Linked DNA regions of Homo sapiens: region 2 is linked to region 1. Evidence: promoter capture Hi-C in 16 types of primary human blood cells and fetal thymus (Javierre and others, 2016). All regions are on one chromosome and are shown on one strand. Each heading gives the region's core, a stretch centred on a gene start or on the middle of the fragment in contact. The rest is flanking DNA. Distances are from core to core; before and after follow the strand shown. Region 1 holds the start of RNF223 (ring finger protein 223). Region 2 holds the start of SAMD11 (sterile alpha motif domain containing 11).

Evidence for each region. Contacts are between HindIII fragments. The CHiCAGO score rates a contact against its expected background, and 5 or more counts as called.
Region 2: the fragment with the promoter of SAMD11 here is called in contact with the fragment with the promoter of RNF223 in region 1 in 2 of 17 cell types (erythroblasts and neutrophils); the score reaches 8.3 in erythroblasts.

The regions. Positions count from the first base shown.
Region 1 is chr1:1,072,341-1,075,870 of GRCh38, reverse strand. It overlaps RNF223 (ring finger protein 223), which reads left to right and starts at 1,565. Exons shown (of 2, transcript NM_001205252.2): 1 at 1,565-1,855; 2 at 3,296-3,530. The coding sequence starts at 3,305. RefSeq lists an enhancer at 1,373-1,872. The HindIII fragment of the contact is 29,142 bases long and covers 1-3,530 here.
Region 2 is chr1:921,959-925,488 of GRCh38, reverse strand. It overlaps SAMD11 (sterile alpha motif domain containing 11), which reads right to left and starts at 1,566. Exons shown (of 14, transcript NM_001385641.1): 1 at 541-1,566. The coding sequence starts at 1,057. It overlaps LOC107985728 (collagen alpha-1(III) chain-like), which reads left to right. Exons shown (of 5, transcript NR_168405.1): 2 at 2,028-2,214; 3 at 2,346-2,476; 4 at 2,754-2,817; 5 at 2,980-3,530. RefSeq lists enhancers at 1-277, 1,943-2,521. The HindIII fragment of the contact is 23,463 bases long and covers 1-3,530 here.

The DNA.
Region 1 (3,530 bases), core at 316-2,815:
CACCCCGCACGGAGCCCCTCACAGAGCTCCCACCCCTCCCCAGCTCTTGAGTCCCCAGCCCTCCCTGTCTGAAAGCCCAGCCCCAGCCCGCGCCCCGCTCTCTGAGCATCCACCCCTCCCTGTCTGAGCACCCAAATCCGCTCTCTGAACCCCCCTAACCCCCGACTGAGAGTCCTCATGGAACTGGCAGGGGTCCCCCCAACCCCTGACTGAGAGTCCTCATGGAACTGGCAGGGGTCCCCCCAACCCCCGACTGAGAGTCCTCATGGAACTGGCAGGGGTCCGGCCCTTCCTGAGCCCAAGTCCCTGTGCTCCTCCTCGGGGTGTTGCCCCCTGGCCTCTGCAGTCCTGGTTCCCACTTCCCAGCATCCCTTGGGCTCCAGGATGCCCGCGGCAGCCCTGGGGGAGCCTCTGGGTCCCTACTGAGGGGTCGGCGGGCACCTGCATGGGAGTTGCCTGAGGGCAGTCTGTGGGGTGGCCCGGCCAGCTCTCCCACTAGGGTGGGTCCCTCACTCCCAGCCCCACCCAGTGTGGCACCCCCCCAGGCTGGTGTGTGGAGTCCCAGCTCAGGTCCGGCCCAGGCCTCATGGCGGGGATGGGGCTGTGGCAGCCGGGTCGGACCTCCCCTTGCATGAGGTCCACTGGGCTGGGAGAGAGACGCCTCAGTGAGGTGGGGAGCTGGCAGCTGGACAGCCTGGGGGTGCAGCTCTACACCAGGCCCTCGGGCCCACAGCGGGGTGTGCGGGGGACGGGGCAGCCCATGCCACTGGCTGCTCCTCTGAGACCCACACATCCTCCATCCCAGCCCTGCCAGCCTCAGCCCCCAGACTCTCAACCAGCTCCAGCCCTGGTCTTTGCACAGACCAGTCCTGTAGTCTGCTAGGGCATGTGGACATGGCATGTGTGTGTGTGTGGACACAGGGCACGTGTGTGAGAGCATGTGGACATGGCATGTGTGTGAGAGTGTGGACACGGCGTGTGAGTGTGGACACGGCGTGTGTGAGTGTGGACATGGCATATGTGAGCTTCCGGACACGGCACGTGTGTGAGAGCCTGTGGACACGGGGGCATAGAGCGTGTGAACACATGGCCCATGTGTGAGAGCAGCCACGTATGTGTATGGATGAGGCAGGTGAGCACATGGGTGGGTGTGGGCAGGGAAGTGGCAGGAATGGGCTGTGAGGGCAGGCAGCAGTGAGCAAAGGGCAGGGGCAGGCTGGGCATAGGTTGTGGGGGGCTCGGGGAGGGCCCCTGCTAGGAGGCCCACCCAGGAGCTCAGGGGCCACAGGGACCTGGAACTGCGGTGAGCAGCTTCCAGCAGGTGCTCCAGCCTCCTGGGGCTATAGGGAGAGAGGGCTTTGTCCAAGCACACACCCCAGCCCAGACCTGCCCAGGCTGCAGCGGCTGTGCTGACCCCTACCCGGCTCCGACCCTCACCCCTCCCTCCCTGCCCTCCAGCTGCCTGGCCCGCCAAGGAGAGGATGAAGCCAGCCAATCCCTGAGGCTTGCGGCCACACCCTTGGCCCATAGGGTATAAATAGACCTGCTTGGGAGCCCACACCCAGCAACTCACACCTGCCTCAGACCAGAGCTCTGTGCGGGTGACGGCGCACGCATTCCTTGTGTCCCCGCCTGTCTTGGACAGAGCAGAAGCCACACCTGCCAGACCAGTGCCACCGGGACAGCTGCTGGTGGCCGGCCCCGGGGAGGGATACCTGCTGGGTGAAGCACAGGCCGGGCCGGGCCCGGAGAAGAGGAAGCAGACACTGCCACGGCAGGGCAGCCCAGGGCCTTGGAGCCCAACCGTGGCCGGCGAGGAGGACCACGCCCAGGCCCGCTGACCCCCGGCCACCAGGTAAGGCCAGCTCAGCCCGTGTTCACCCCTTACCTGCACAGGCTCAGGGTGGGGCACCATCGTGGAGGGGTGGGGCCTCGTGCCAAGGAACCGGTTCTGTGGGGTACACAGGCCGCAGAGCACAGTCCCCAGGTCCCGGTGCCTGGGGCACTCACGGCCTCACAGTGACGGCGTGTGACTCAGGTGGTCACAGTGACCTGTGTCATCCCGCCAGCCTGTCTGGGACTCACTGGCAAGTCAGGGGTGGGGCGGGGCAGTGCCAGGAGTCACTTCTGGGGCAGCCTCCTGGGCCCCACGGGGACGCACGGCCAGGCCCTTGAGTCTCACTGTCACCCTTGCCCACTTCCCTCCAGGTGGGACCCCTGTGGCTCCCTGCAGCGGATCCTGGGTGCAGGGGAGGGGCGGGAGGTGGAGCAGGGTCCCAGGTCAGCTGAGATGCCCACCTGAGCCATGCCCAGGGGCAGAGCAGCATCCCCCAGTGTCCGTCCCCCAGGGTCCCTGCCATGAAGTGGGATTGGGTCAGGGAGAAGAAACACCCACTCAGTGGGCGGCTGAGGGTGCCCTGACCATCACCTGACCATGAGGCAGTGGGCTGGCCCAGAGGGAATGGCTGGGCTTATCCAAGTCCCACCCCCACACTGTGCACATCAGACCCTCAGCAGCTAGACAAGCCGGCCCCGCAGGCCGCAGGTCGTGCCTGACGTGCACCTTCCTCGGGCACTGACCCCTGCCCCTGCCTGGGCCCTCCCTGTCGTCCCAAAGCCCCCGGGGCTCAGCCCGGTCCCCAGACCCAGAGACCCCCACACCCCACCCTCACATAGCTGCCTACAAATCAGGCCTGCACCGCCCAAGCCAGGCACCCATCCTGGGATCTGAGTTCAAACTCACTTCACTTGACTTGGAGTCCCTGGCCTGCCTGAGAGCCGTATCTGCCAGGGTCCAGGGCCCGCCAGCTCCCTTGGGGTGGCCCTGGCCGAGTCACCCATGCTCTGGGCGGCCTTTTCCACACTGTGGCGTTGTGTGAGTCCCGTGATGTGGGCCCAGCCTTGCAGAGCTCCGACATAAACAGTGACGACTGTGGCTATTGTCATCCTCACCATTATTTCTGCCCGGGCAGCAGGGCCAGCCAGGTGGGGCAGGGCCAACAGGAGGTGTCTGCCGAGCGGTCAGTGAGACCCCCCTACACACGGCCTGCATTCCCGGAGCAGGCCTGGGGCCCTGTGGGAGGCTCACCCCGGTGCAGCCATGTGATGGGGTGGAGAGGACAGGATTGCACGTGGGGCAGAATGACCTCCAGGGGCACCGGAGGAACTTTCTGGAGTGGCGCGCAGGAAACAGAGTCCTTCCCTGGGATCTCTGGGGCGAGAGAGGGGAGGGAGAGATAAAACACCACCAGAAAGGGGCGGCCGGTGATTGCTTACCACAGTCCCTGTCCCACAGCTCAGAGACATGTCGTCAGGCCAGCAGGTGTGGCACACGGCTGTGCCACCCCCTCGCCGGAGCAGCTCCATAGCCTCGATGCCCAGGTCCCCCAGCTCGGCCGGCAGCCCCAGGTCCCCTGGCACCCCTGGCTCGGAGAGGGTGGCCTCCCCCCTGGAGTGCTCCATCTGTTTCTCAGGCTATGACAACATCTTCAAGACACCCAAGGAGCTCTCCTGCACCCACGTCTTCTGCC
Region 2 (3,530 bases), core at 317-2,816, 150 kb after region 1:
CTGGCGCTCACCGCACCCCCTGTGTCCCGGCTCAGGCGCCCCCGCGTCGCACCCTTGGGCCCAGGCGCCCGCAGGCGCCAAAACAGGTTGTGTGACCTGGCGCCGCCGCTCGGGCTCCGCGCGCGCCCCCGCGCCGCCCCGCAGCCTCCCCCGCCGCGCGCTCGCACCCGGCCGCACGTGCGCCCCTCCAGTCTCCCCCGAACCCGGGGCTCCGCGCCCTCCCAACCCGCCTCCTGCCCGCTCTCTCGAGTCCCCGTAAACTTCCTTCGGGCCTTAAGGCCCAGGAGCCTCGCAGAGACCTTCCGAGCGGAGGGAGCGGCCCGCGAGCCCCAAGCGCTGTGGCCCAAGCTGGGGGGAGGTGCAGCGGGGGGCGATCTGTCCGTGTTCACCGAGGCCTCCGCGCGCGGCGGGGGTGTCCCCGCGCAGCCCTGGAGCTGCAGCGCCCCCTCGGCCGAGCCGGAGGCTCCCGGGTGTCCGAGTCGGGTAGGGGGTGGGGTCGGGGCCCGCGGGTCCCGGCAGCGAAGGGAGGGGCGGCGGCACCTTTGTGGCGGATGCTGCGCTTCCAGTCCTTGGCCGTCTCGCGGCCGCTGACGAACTGGAACTCGTTGGGCGTGAGCCACTCGCCGCGGTGGCGGATGGACGGGCCCTTGCTGCCCTGGCAGAGTTTGCGCACGTAGAGCAGCGCGCGGTTGGCGCCGCACTCCACCTCGATGCACGGCTCGCCGTTGTCCAGCAGCGGCTGGAAATCCGGGGCCGCGGCCGCGGTGGCCGAGAAGCGCTCGAGGGCCAGCGGGTCCCTGGGCAGGTGGAGGTGCGGGGCGGCCTCGTGCAGGCTGAGGTAGGCGCGCGGGGGGCGGAGCGGCGGGGCCAGCAGAGCCTCGTAACCGGCGGCCGAGGCGGGCAGCGAGGCGGCCGGGGGGAGGGCGGCCGCCGCGGGCAGTGGCGCCAGGTAGCCTGGCAGCGGCGGCAGCGGCAGCGCGGCCAGGGTCGGGTGGAACGTGGCCAGAGCCAGGGCCAGGTCCTCGCGGCCCGGGAACTCCTTCTTGACCGCCGGCATGGCGCCCCGGTGGCTCCGCAGCCCCGCTCTCCGCCGGCGGCAGCAACTTATTCCGGCCCGGGCTGGAGTTGGGTCGCGGGGGCCGGGGAGGCGCCTGGCCGCGCGCCCACGCCGTCCGCTAGTGCGCCCCGGCGCCCGCAGCCGCCGCCTACGCGCCGCCCGCCAGGCCTCCCCGGACTGCCCAGCCGGCCGGCGGGGCCTCAGAGGCCGGAGACATGGAGCTGCTATCGATCCCGGATCGACTCGCCGAGCGCCGCAGTTCCAGGGCCTCGGGGCTCCCCGGGGCGTCTGGAGTCCCGCGCCCCGGCCACCAGCGCCCGCGCCCGGGGCAGTCCCACGCCCGGCTCGCCGACCCACCCGCCAGGCCGAGCCCGGCAGCGAGGAGTCGCGGAGTCCCCGCCCCTCTCGGGGGTCCCAAGCCCCCGCCCCGCCGCCCGGGCCGCGTCAGTCGTGCACCCGCGTCCACTGGCGCGCGCCCGCCCGGCGGGGACTTGGGAGACTCCGCCGCCGACGCCGCCGCCACAACTTGGCCCATTTAAACGGCCCCGGCGCGGCGGGCGGCGCGGGCTCCCGCGGGGGGTGCGTGACGGCCGACTCGGGGCATCCGGCGGCGGCAGCGGGACAGGGCTGCGGCCCCCGGCACTATCCCGAGTACCGAGTCACTGCGAGCGGCTGGAATCCAGGACTCCGCGCGGGACTGGGATGGGCTGGGCTGGTCGCGGACCGGGCTCCTCTCGGAGGGAGGGAGCTGGGGGCTGCTCGCCGGGGTGTGAGCGTGCGCCGGCGGCTCTGGGACTTTGCGCAGCGAATCTGATGGTGGGCGTTGGTGTCCGGGAGGGCGTGGGTGGTCTCAGTGCACCTGCAGGGAGCGAGGTTGTGGATTTGTAGTGTGTTGCCTGGGCAAAGTGTTCTGTGAATAACAGGGCAGCACCTCCCCGCCCACTCGTGCCCCTTCCTATGCACTTGACAGGAGTGAGTTCGCCCGAGCCACGGAGTTCCTGTTCAGTCTTTTGCAGAAGACGCTGAGACAGAAAGGTCAAGTAACTCTCCTGAAGTCACACAGCTGTTTCAAATGCAGGATGTCTCACACCAGGACCGCGCCAGGACCATGGTGTGGGGCAAGAGCTTCCTGTCACCCCACACCTCCCAGCAGGAAGGTGGTGTGGATCCGAGGCAGGGTGAGGGTGGGGGATAGCGGGTTGGCAGAGTGCACGGCCTCCCACTAGGAGGAGCAAGGCTAGTGAAGCAGGACCGGCCACACCACGTCCACCTTGGTGCCTTCTGACAGGTCAGTCTGGGCCCCAGTCCCTGGTTCCTGGTGAGCTTCCCATCACCCCCCACCTCCCTGCGTGCCCAGATCGGCATTGCATCTGGAGCGTTCCGAAGAGAAACACAACCTGGGGGCGTTGGTAACAGCAGGTGAGACAGCCTTGTCCTGCGCTGCTGTGCGGTGTTGCATCCACTAGAAAGGGGCCTCCTGTTCTGACCCTGGCCCCTGCCCTTGAGATGCAGCTGGCATGTCCCTGTGGGCATCTCCCAGAGCAGGTCCAGGGGTGAGTGGGCCACAGGCCTGTTTGCACAGGTGCCTTCTTCGAGGGAGGGAACAGCCCACCACCACCTCCTGCCAGACCAGCTTCCTTGAGCATAAACCTGACCCTGGGTGACCACGCTGGGCTCCTTCACCTTATCTCACCAGAGGCTTCTGCTGGTCCCACAGCCAACCCGCGGAGTGAGGTCTGGGCCAGGAGTGCTCTGCTCAGGCAAGGAACATGCCCAGAAGCCTCCCCCGCTATCCTGGCCCTGTTCTGTGGGGGCTCGTTGGTCTGTTGGGGTCTGGGGGGCCAGGTAGGAGTGTGGGTGTGAGTGTCGGTGACCCTTCCTTATGTGGCCACCCTTGGCCCTATCAACCTGTCTGCATCCAGGACACCAGCACATCCCTGACCCCAGCTGTGGCTGCCAGTGAGTTCCTGTGCCTTCCTCTCCTGAAGTCTGTGTCTTCTCCCAGGTCTGATACCATGTGGAAAGTCTGCTCCTGGGGCCAGCTGGAGGCCATGTGGACTGGCCCTGAGTGCCCACTGTCTGGATGCAGCCCTGACCCTACTGCCCGTGTGTGGGCTACTAGGTTCACCTGCACCTGACCCTCCTTCTAGGTTCGCCTGCACCTGACTCCCTGATGTTCACACAGTGATTTGGAGAGGGAGGCTGGGGAGGCGCAGGTCTGCATGGCAGTGCCTCTCAGGGTCTGAGGCCCTTGGGCCAGGCCTCTCCTCTGACCTGGGCCAGCAGAGGGGCCTCCTTTCCCTTCCAAGAGCCCTCCCCTGTTCACCAGCATCTCATCATGCTCAGGCCCACAGTGTGGTTAAGGAGGGGCATGGGGCTGGCCCTGGGTTTCTGGCTGGGTGTGGGGGCCTACCCGGGGCCCATGGTGTCTTCCAGAAAAGACCCTGACTGGGTCCAAAGCTGGAGGCACCCC